Linked DNA regions of Homo sapiens: region 1 is linked to region 2. Evidence: promoter capture Hi-C in 16 types of primary human blood cells and fetal thymus (Javierre and others, 2016). All regions are on one chromosome and are shown on one strand. The core of a region is centred on a gene start or on the middle of the fragment in contact, and the rest is flanking DNA. Distances in the headings are between cores, read along the strand shown.

The links. The method cuts DNA at HindIII sites, captures the fragments that hold promoters and counts their contacts. A CHiCAGO score of 5 or more calls a contact.
Region 1: a fragment that was not itself captured here is called in contact with the fragment with the promoter of SLC1A3-AS1 in region 2 in 1 of 17 cell types (monocytes); the score reaches 5.8 in monocytes.

The regions. Positions count from the first base shown.
Region 1 is chr5:36,836,743-36,842,163 of GRCh38, reverse strand. No RefSeq gene overlaps it. Among named protein-coding and RNA genes, the nearest start is that of NIPBL-DT, 37 kb to the left of the region's middle. The HindIII fragment of the contact is 637 bases long and covers 1,859-2,495 here.
Region 2 is chr5:36,723,402-36,728,478 of GRCh38, reverse strand. It overlaps SLC1A3-AS1 (SLC1A3 antisense RNA 1), which reads left to right and starts at 3,291. Exons shown (of 2, transcript XR_007058736.1): 1 at 3,291-3,365. RefSeq lists enhancers at 4,294-4,563, 4,604-4,653, 4,664-4,713. The HindIII fragment of the contact is 5,384 bases long and covers 1-3,907 here.

The DNA of each region.
Region 1 (5,421 bases), core at 928-3,427, 110 kb before region 2:
TCTGGAGCTCGTGAAAGCATAGGACAACCCCCTGGTGAGTCTATTAGCAAAAGAAAATTGCCACCCAGGTAGACCCTTTCTAAAAGCATATGTTATATATCTATAAAACACGTGTAGTAAGTTTCTTTTAAGCTAACATGAAAGAGAGCCATACCTTCTTCTGTTGTTCTGTTGCTGAGAAATGCTACATAATAAACAGTTTAATATTTCATGAATAATTATTTATGCCACACCTTTTGGTGAAAGAAAACATCTGTAAATGCCTTTCTTATCTGTTGAAATGCTATTTCAAGAAGTAAAAGGCATCCAGATTGGAAAAGAGGAAGTCAAATTGTCCCTCTTTGCAGATGACATGATCTTATATTTAAAAAAATCTAAAAACTCCACCAAGTAACTCTTAGATCTGATAAACAAATTCACTAAAGTTGCAGGATACAAAATCAACATACAAAAATCAGTGACATTTCTATACATTTATATTAAACTGGGTGAAAAATAAATCAAGAAGGCAATCCCATTTACAATAGCTACAAAAAAATTCTAGAAATAAGTTTTACCAAGGAGGTGAATGACCTGTATAAGGAAAGCTACAAAACACTGATGAAAGAAATTGAAGAAGACACAAACAAATGGAAAAACATCCCATGCTCATGGATCGAAAGGATTAACATTGTTAAAATGACCATACTACCCAAAGCAATCTATAGATTCAATACAATCCCTATGGAGATACCAACAACATTCTTCACAGAAATAGAAAAAAACAATCCTAAAGTTTGCACTGAACCAAAAAAGAGCCCAAATAGCCAAAGCAATCCTGAGCAAAAAGAACAAAGCTGGAGGCATCACACTACCTGTCTTCAAAATATATTACAAGGTTATAATAACCAAAACAGCATGGTATTGGTATAAACGGACACATAGACCAATGGAAGAGAATAGAAAACCCAGAAATAAATCGACGTATTTACTGCCAGCTTATTTTTTTTTAATTTGATTTTTTTTTTTTTGTAGCGATGGGGTCTTTCTCTGTCACTCAGGTTGAATTGCAGTGGCATGGTCATAGCTCACTGCAGGCTTGAACTCCTGGGCTCAAGTAATCCTCCCACTTCAGCCTTCCACATAACTGGGATTACAGGTCTGAGCTACCAAGCCTGGTTTACAGCCAACTAACTTTTGACAAAGGCACCTAGAACATCCATTCAAGTCTTTTTAATAAATGTGCTGGGAAAACTCTATATCCATATGCATAACAATGAAACTAGACCCCTTTCACTATATATAAAAATCAACTCAAAATAGATCAAAGACTTTAATATAGAACCTGAAACTATAAAATGACTGGAAGAAAACATAGGAGAAACACTCCAAGACATTGGTCTAGGTAAAGATTTTATGGCAAAGACCTCAAAAGCAGAGGCAACAAAAGCAAAGATAGACAAATGCAACTGATATGGTTTGGGTCTGTGCCTCCACCCAAATCTCATGTCAAATTGTAATCCCCTACGTTGGAGGTGGAGCCTGGTGGGAGGCGATTGGATTATGGTGGCGATTTCCCTTTTGGTGCTGTTCTCATGATAGTGAGTTGTCACAAGATCTGCTGGTTTAAAAGTGTGTAGCTCTTACTACCTCTCCCTCTTCCTCCTGCTCCGGCCATGTAAGAGATTACTCCTGCTTTGCCTTCTGCCGTGAGTAAAAGTTTCCTGAGGCCTCTCCAGGAGCCACTATGCATCCTGTATATCCTGCAGAACCATGAGCCAATTAAACCTCCTTTCTTTATAAATTACCCAGCCTCAGGTATTTCTTTATTGCAATGTGAGAATGAACTAATGTGGTGACTGTATTAAACCAAAAAGCTTTTGCACAGCAAATAAAACAATCAACACAGTGAAGAGACAACCTGTTGAATAGGAGAAAATATTTGCAAGCTGCTCATTTGACAAGGGAATAATATCCAGTATGTACAAGGAACTTAACCGCAAAAAAACCCCCCAAATAACCCCATTAAAAATTGGGCAAGGATATTAATAGATATTTCTCAAAAGAAGACAAATGACCAACAGCTATATGAAAAAATGTTCAACATTACTAATCATCGGGGAAATGTAAATCAACAAAACCACAAAGAGATATTATCGTATCCCAGTTAGAATGCTAATTACAAAAAGACAGATGCTGGTGAGGATATGGAGAAAAAGGAACTCATACAGCGTTGGTAATAATGTAAATTAGTATAGCCATTATGGAAAATAGCATGAAGATTTCTCAAAAAACTAAAAATAGAATTACCATATGATCCAGCAATCCCACTACTGGGTATTTATCCAAAGAAAAGTAGATCAGTATATCAAAGGGATACCTACACCCCCATGTTCATTTCAGCATTAAGGAAATGAAGCCTCAGAGAGGTTAAGTGCCTGGCCTCAGTGTCACCCAGCCAGGAAAAAACAGAACTGAGAATTTACTTGTGATTGCTCTATTCCAAAGACTAAGCTTTTGACCAATTTATTACACAATGTTAGGTCAGCAGAGATTGAAAGTTGCTAATCAGTGTGTTCCTCATTCTCTCATTCCCATCCCAGGATTTGGGCAAATATTAATAAATGTGATGACTGAGCAAGGCCTGTGAAGTCTGAATCCCAGGAATCCCTAAAATATATCTCCCACTTTCCTGCTAGCGTCTGACCAGATTTTGGGGTCCTAATTAATGTCTGGTTTGATAAGCTTCTTTAAAACATCTGAACTTAGCCAGGCAAGTTCAAGTGCAACAGGATTTTTCCAAGCAGCATCAGTCTAGAAACTGAGCAGTTGTGGTCTCAGTTCTGAACCACCAATCTTCTCTTACTTGAGTCTTGCAGGGAATTATTGTGAAGTTTGAATCTTGTCTCTGCCACCTACTAGCTGTGAGAATGAATGTAATTATTTACATTTCTGAGAATGCTCTTTGCCCCATCTGAAAACTAGTGTATAAATACCTTCCACAAAGTGATAAAAGGATTAACGTGAGATCATGAATTTGAAAGTGGCTGGTATGATAAATGCTAAGTAAAAAAATTTAAATGAAATAAAATGGATTAAGTGAAATAAAATGGTCTCCTTGTTTCCAGCTTCCAACTGTCTCTTCAACCTCTCTCTGCCAACGTCTGCTCCGACTTACCATGATTGCTCCTGGTTCTAGACTTCTGGCACCACCTGCCAATTCTCTTTCCCTCTGGCAAGCTCTGGCACTACCTTCCTAGGCAACATGAGGGAGGGCCTGGACTCGAGAACAGAGTCCCCCAAGTCCTGAGCAGAATTTATGTCTTCAAAACCTATTTACGGCATATGTAATTGTTGTACTGTCTTCAAAAACACAATGTATTTCCATTATTTTTCCAATTAAAATTTTAATAAAAACTCAGTGAGAAAAATTAGAAAATGTCAGAAACTTTAGAAGGAAAAAACCCACCATAATCTAATAACCTCTCAATAAACAATGTTAACAGCTGGATATATACTTTCAAGTGTTTTTCACTGATGTATCTTGAGAAAGGGAGCCTGGTTCCTTTTAAAGATTTCATTCTGAATCAGAAATTCAGTTACTAAAAAAAGCGAATCATCTCAAATTAGCATTTGATATTGAGGACCTATTATAGGCTGGACAGTTGACAGTTGCCTAGAGAATTGAAAGTAGAAATATCAGTCTGTCTCCTCAACAACATATAGTAGAAGCGCAGGCAGGGGCACACTATAAAAAGTTAGATGTAAATTTAAGTGCTAGATGGGAATAAATACAAAAGTAGGAGAAATTTCATATGTCAACTCATAAAAAAATTCCCAAATGAATGATATCTGTAATGAGTACTATGAGTTCAAACCTGCCAAGATCTTGTGGCTCTTAGCAAGGAGAACAATTATAAAGAGATTAAATTTTCGGTAAGAAAATGAAAAGCATATGTGTCTTGGGTTAGGTTGGGAGTAATATCTGAAGGGCAGGGTTTTCCAAACGAGAATAAACAGGGTCAAATGTAACATAGATGCCAGAGAATTTGTTGCTTTGAAAAAGACTTGAAAAGAATTTTACCTATACTAGAACCTATTTTTTTTCTATATCAATATTTCAATCTTATCCTCTTGGGTCACAAATGAACAAAAGGAGCTGAAGAAAACTGGGGAAACTTGAAGGACAAAGGCAGCTTTTCATTCACTTACTGGATTTTTATTGAGCACCTATATGTGGCAGGCACCTAGAGAGCAGGCCACCATGTATGTATACACATAGACTATGATACAATTGTGCAGTGCATAATCAATGCAACTGTCTGTGATGACCCTGCAATAAAGACACAACAGTGAATAGGTTCCTCACATTTGGAAAAGCGGGGGTGGGGGAGACTAGTAATAAATAAGGAAAAAATAAGGCAATTTCAGGCAGCAGTAATTGCTATGAAGAAAATAAAATAGCACAATGAGATAGAAAGAGATGTTGGGGGCAGGATCACAAAGAATGACTAGGGAAAGCCTCTTTAAATAAGGAGGAAACCACACAAAGATTTGGCAAATGCGTAGTTCAGGTAGAGGAAAAAGGAAGGGCAAAGTTCCTGCATGGGAATGATTATGCATTCATTCCAGTGTGTCAGTGGTCTAATGTGCAAGTGGCGAACATCGAGGCGGTAGAGCTAGACAGGGGCTAGATTATGTAAACTATGGTGAAAATGTCTGGATTTTATTCTAAAGGAAATATTGAATCTTTAATAGCATACAGTAGGAAAGAGGTGCTTCTTGTTGGCATGAAGATCTGGTTGAACAAAAATCCTAGCTGAAGGCTGGCTACAACAGTTTTTTTTTAACTTTGAACAAGCATGGTTAGAAATCTTGAAGTCAGGAATAAGCTGGGAACAAACAAAGTATGGAAGCCTTGGCATTAGTTAGTTCTAATAATGATTTGGTAGTGTACAAGACTGGTGAAACAGGTATCTGATTATACTTATGTGTTTACATTTCTTTTCATCTTGCTTTAGTTAAAACAATTTTTAAAAAACATCTTTATTATCTTAGCTCTCTTACCATTTTAGTAAACATCAGCAGGTCTAGTTATTTCCAGAGTTCTCTATTTCTCTAACTTCCTTTTTCGTGTGTGCAGACCTAAAGCTGCCCTACCACATCCCATTCCCCATCTCCTCACTTCATCAGGAAGTGCAGAAGAATGTGAACTGCATGCTTTGCCATCAGGATGTTCCTGGGGTCCTGATTTTCCTCTTAGCTTAATAGTTTATGTCCTGGACCAGTGGAAATATAATATGAGATACATTTGCTCTTTTAAGTTTTCTAGTAGCCACATTAAAAAAGTAAAAAGAATTAGGTGCAATAAATTTTAGGAATATATTATATTTAACCCAATATATCTAAAATACTATCGTTTCAACATGTAATCAAAATTTA
Region 2 (5,077 bases), core at 2,042-4,541:
GGTGCTATGGGCCAGCCTGTTTCATCTTCATGACAATCCTTCGAGGTATGATTTTAGCCACATTTTTCTACAAGAAGGGGACTCTGAGAATTTAAGGTAACTTGCCATCCAGCTGCTCCGTGGCAGAACTGGGATTCAACCTCGAGTCTCTGACCTCACGGTTAAAGACCTTGACTTCTTGCTGTGGACGACTGCAAATGCTGGGTCACGTTCACGTTCAGCTTGAATCTCAAACAGAAACGATGAGATGGGCTGTGTTACGTTCCCTCAAGTGAGAGTCGCAGTGGGGCTAATGTGTTTGTGTGAATAAGGATTCTTCACTGACGTGTGGCAATATCACTCTACAAAGCCATGGGAAACAAAGCTCTGCTTTCCCCCTACGTTGGCACTGGTGGCCTGTACTTACGGCAGTGAGATTTGCATACAGCCACATCTGTCCAGCCTGGTACAGAGCCCTTAAACAACAGGAGCCCGTCCTCTGGCACAAGTTCAGATTCCCAAGGAGACTGCCCTCATACCACTAGACCCAACCCAAACTTGCGCCTCACTAGGTATTGCCCTTGGCCCCTGACTTTTTTTTTTTTTGAGACAGAGTCTCACTCTGTCGCCCAGGCTGGATTGCAGTGGCGCGATTTCGGCTCACTGCAAGCTCCGCCTCGCGGGTTCACGCCATTCTCCTGCCTCAGCCTCTCCGAATAGCTGGGACTACAGGTGCCCTCCATCACTCCCGGCTAATTTTTTTTTGGTATTTTTAATAGAGACGGGGTTTCACCGTGTTAGCCAGAATGGTCTCGATCTCCTGACCTCGTGATCCGCCCGCCTCATCCTCCCAAAGTGCTGGGATTACAGGTGTGAGCCACCGCCCCCGGCCAAGGCCCCTGATTTCTTACTCATTTGCTCATTATGTGCTAGCCTGTCCCTAAGATTTGGTACATTTTGCTACTGTTCTGACTAGTGACGTTAGCTCTCAGTGGAAATTCAGCCTCCCTTACTTGGATAAAGTACTTTGTAAAAAAATTTTGCGAAACCAATTTTTTCACTCACTGATACGCTGTTCTTAGGAGGGTAAGTAGACTCTGGAGGGCACTTTCTCAGGGAAGGAATGAGGGTCTCAGGCTCTGTGGGGAAGAAAGGCATGCAGAGGTGGCAGCTGCAGATGGCCTGACGGGTGGGAAATTTTGCCTCTTCTGGTTTCTGGTCACCCCAGCTTCTTGAAAGACTGAATTGAGGAGTGTGGGTGTTGGAGTGGGGTGAATGGGATAGGAATAGCTCTATGAGCAGCTGAAGCTACTCCGTTGGTACCATCGGGACCATACTGTTCTTTTCATTTGGAATCCTGAAAATGGTGCATATATAAAGACCTTGAGGGCTTAGCAGGTGTTGGGGAAACCACCACATTACTGATCCTTCAAGAGACCAAGACATAAAAATAGTGCCTCTTATTTCTGGCCTTTTGGCTACTGTTACTTCTGTGTCATTGTCTCTTATTACCCTCACTTCTAGCCACACCAGTCTTATCACTGTTCCTTGGATGGGCCTCAGGGCCTTTGCACTGGCTGTTCTCTCTGCTTGGACCACTCTTCCTCAAGATAGCCACATGCCTCACTCCCTCACCTCCTGCACTCTGCTCAAAAGTCAACTTCGTAGGGAGTCCTGACTTGACCACCCTAATTTAAATTGCACTTCTGATTTCACTTACTTTGCTTTTTCTCTCCATAGTGATCACCTCTTAACATATTACAAAATTTTCTTAATTTTTTAATGTTTATTGCCTATCTCCTGTTTCACGCTCCTTCTTGCATCCCTGAATGTAAACTCTGAGAATAGTGAGGTATTTTTTGTCCTTTTTGTTCAATAACAAACACTCAGTGCCTAGAATAATGCCTTACAGGAGTGCTTTATAAGCATTTGTTGAATGAATGAATGAACTAATGAATGAAGTGTAATACAAGGGGCAAAGGATTTGGCATCCTTTGGTCATGGAGTGCTGCTCAGATATGTACTATAGAAACCATTCTGAAGCATTTCAAAAGACATCCAGTTTCTCCTCTGTATACTGCAAAATCTTGGGCTTAGGTTCTGGCATTTAGTCTATGACAAATGATTGCTGGCAAAAGTTGAATGAAGCAGTTAAGAGTATGGGTTTGCAGTAAGATCCAGGTTCAAATTTACACCTTTCCATGTACTACCTGTGTGACTTTGGTGAAATTATCTTCTCCAGGCCTTAGGGTGAAATGTATGTGAGAATGCATGAAGCCTGCCACGTGGTTAATATTAAGAGTGATAACTCATATTATCATTGATGGAGGTGAATGAAAGAAATGGAGTAACACGCTTTTAAAACACAGTTTCCCCTCCATTATCATTTCAACCACTTTAGATGAAAATATTGAGGGATACATCCACAATTTCTAGTTAATTAAAAAATATCAGGAGGTCTTAGTAGATTCTAGATTTTTCCTTCAATGAAATGAGTTGTTAAATAAAAGGCCTCCATAAGTACAGGGTCTTGTCGTTGGGCTCTATCTTATGAGCGGTGGATCTGCCTCCCAGGAAGGTAGGCAGACACCAGTGAGGCATCTGGTGCTTGGGATGCAGCGAGTGGAGCCAAGCAGAGAATGATCAGATCCGTTTGCCTGGAATTTCTGCATTTGCTGCCCCAAACATCTGGAGCCAGGCTACCCAGTGCAGATGGAAAATAGCAAAATGCAAATTCCCTGGGTTCAGCTGAGGGAAGCCAAGGCAGACAGAGTCTGAGAAGGCGGATGAAAGGTGAGCCAAAACAAAAGCCCTGGCGGGTGGTGGGGCAGCGTTTTATCTAGAGCCTACGGCCCCCGGTAAGGACAGGAGATGAGAGAAGGGACCTTAGAGCTACTTGGGCCACCTTCATGTTCGTACTCATCCCCCTCCTTAACAGCCTGAAAGGGAGCCTGCTGGGCTTACGGCAGCCTCCCTGTCCTCTTCCTGATGCCATGCCTGCTCCATTGCTTTGCTTCTTCTGGATCCTGTTTCGCCCTCTCCCTCAAGAAGGAGATCCTGAAATAGATCCTGAGTCAATGACTCAGGTGCAAGTGCTTTATTAAAGAAAGGCTCCCAGAAGAAATCTACTTGCACCCGAATCATTGACTCAGGATCTCCTTCTGGGAGAATCCAAGCCAAGACAAGACAGACAACCCAACCAACTGAGCTGCTCACAGCTTCAACTGCTACAACCCTGGAAAGGATTCTGATTGGCTAGCTAAGGGTCACATGCCCAAATGGGCCTTTGATTGGCAGCTGTTGCTTCCTTCCTACTCCCTCCCACACACCCAGGAGCTCCAGCCTGTTATGGGATGGGCATCCTACCAGGAACCAAGGATGCTAAGGTAAGCAGTCCTTGCCCTCATAGGTTTACTTATACTTAAGGGGAGAGAACCGTTAGTCAAATCACCCCACATACAGATCTTTACACACTATGAAGGACAAGCACAGGGTGCAGTCAGTGGGAGGGGCCCAGAACGGGAAGTGCCATGCTGGCTGCTGCTGTGTGGAATGGGCTGTAAAGAGAGCAAGAGTGAAAGCCACAGCAGGGGAGCTGGTCAGAGATGGCAGTGGCTTTATTAGAGTGGTGGCCCTGGAGTTGGAGACAGGTGGGAAAAACTCAAGAGCCCTCTAAGGAACCGACCCATGGCAGTCCATCGCCACCAAGTCCCTCTTACCACTCTAGGTTTAAAGAAACCCAAAAAACAAAACTACGTTGCAACTGCACTGCTACACCAGGAAACCTAAGGGGGAACAAAAGAAAACTTAGTAGTGCCCTCTAGGCTGAAGATTTGACCTATTATTTACTAACCTTTCCCTCCCTCTTCCTTATTTTCAACAAATCTCCTGCCATCCATTTTGAATTCTTCTCTAAATAGAGAAAGCTTTCTTTCTCAGCTTCATTTAAATGTCCACCATGGTATTTACCCATGTTTTCTTGATTTTTATTTCTTTTTGGGGCGGGTATCTAAAAGATAATCTGATCCCTGTTCCTGATTCTGTAGGTGACAGAGAGAAGTGGTTTTCTCATTTTTTTGTGTGTGAAATTATTCGCATATGAGGAAAAGATAGCTCAAAAATAGAAGCTCTTTCATTATCTCTCCACAATGTAGTGTGGCCCCAAGTGACTATTTTGTGGAGACACGGTAATTTGGGGTGGCTAAATCATTACCCCGAGGTGTGTCAGATGCTGCCAAGACCTCCTTCATTCATGTGGCCAAGACTGTGGGCTTCCTGGCTGGGGAGGCAGAGGCCCTGCTCTTCTGCTGCTAACCTTGGGGTCAGCGAGCCCTGATCCACACTTCCTCTGGGCAACATCAATGGGGCTGCTGAACATATTGAGCCAGACTTGTTTCCAAGAGATAGAAGGAACTAGAGCATTGGGGAAAGTCCCAAGTAACTCTAGCCCTCAGCCACCTGCTGTGGCTGAAGATGAAGTCTCTGCAGCTTCAAGAATCCAACTGGCTGGTGCACATTGTTCTCATTGGCTAGATCATTCCTCCATGTAGCACTTCACTAAACTCATTAACAAATATTTACAAATGACATTGCTTTTTGGGGTCATGTATATTTCAGTCTTCAGAATCCATCAGGCACTCAAATCCCTTGGCAGTTCTAGTTCTCTCCCCTAGACATGCCTCTGCCCCCTACTACTCAGTTCCTTTTATTTCTACCATTCGTTTTTATTTTCTATTTCATTTCTTTACTTTTTAGAGACAAGGTCTCTGTCACCCAGGTTGGAGTGCAGTGGCATGATCATAGCTCACTGCAGCCTCAAACCCTTGGACTCAAGTGATCCTCCTGCCTCGGCCTCCTGAGTAGCTGAGACTACAGGTGTGTTCCACCACATCTGGCTAACTTTTGTATTTTTTGTCAAGATGGGGGTCTTGCTATGTTGCCCAGGCTGATTTCAAACTCCTGACCTCAAGCTGTCCTCCAGCCATGGCCTCCCAAAGTGCTGCCTACCATTATAGGCTGCCATGCCTGGCCCTTATTTTTTTTAAAAAATGATCTTCTCCCTTCTATGTAATTCCTATTCTACCTGTATTATTCTTCT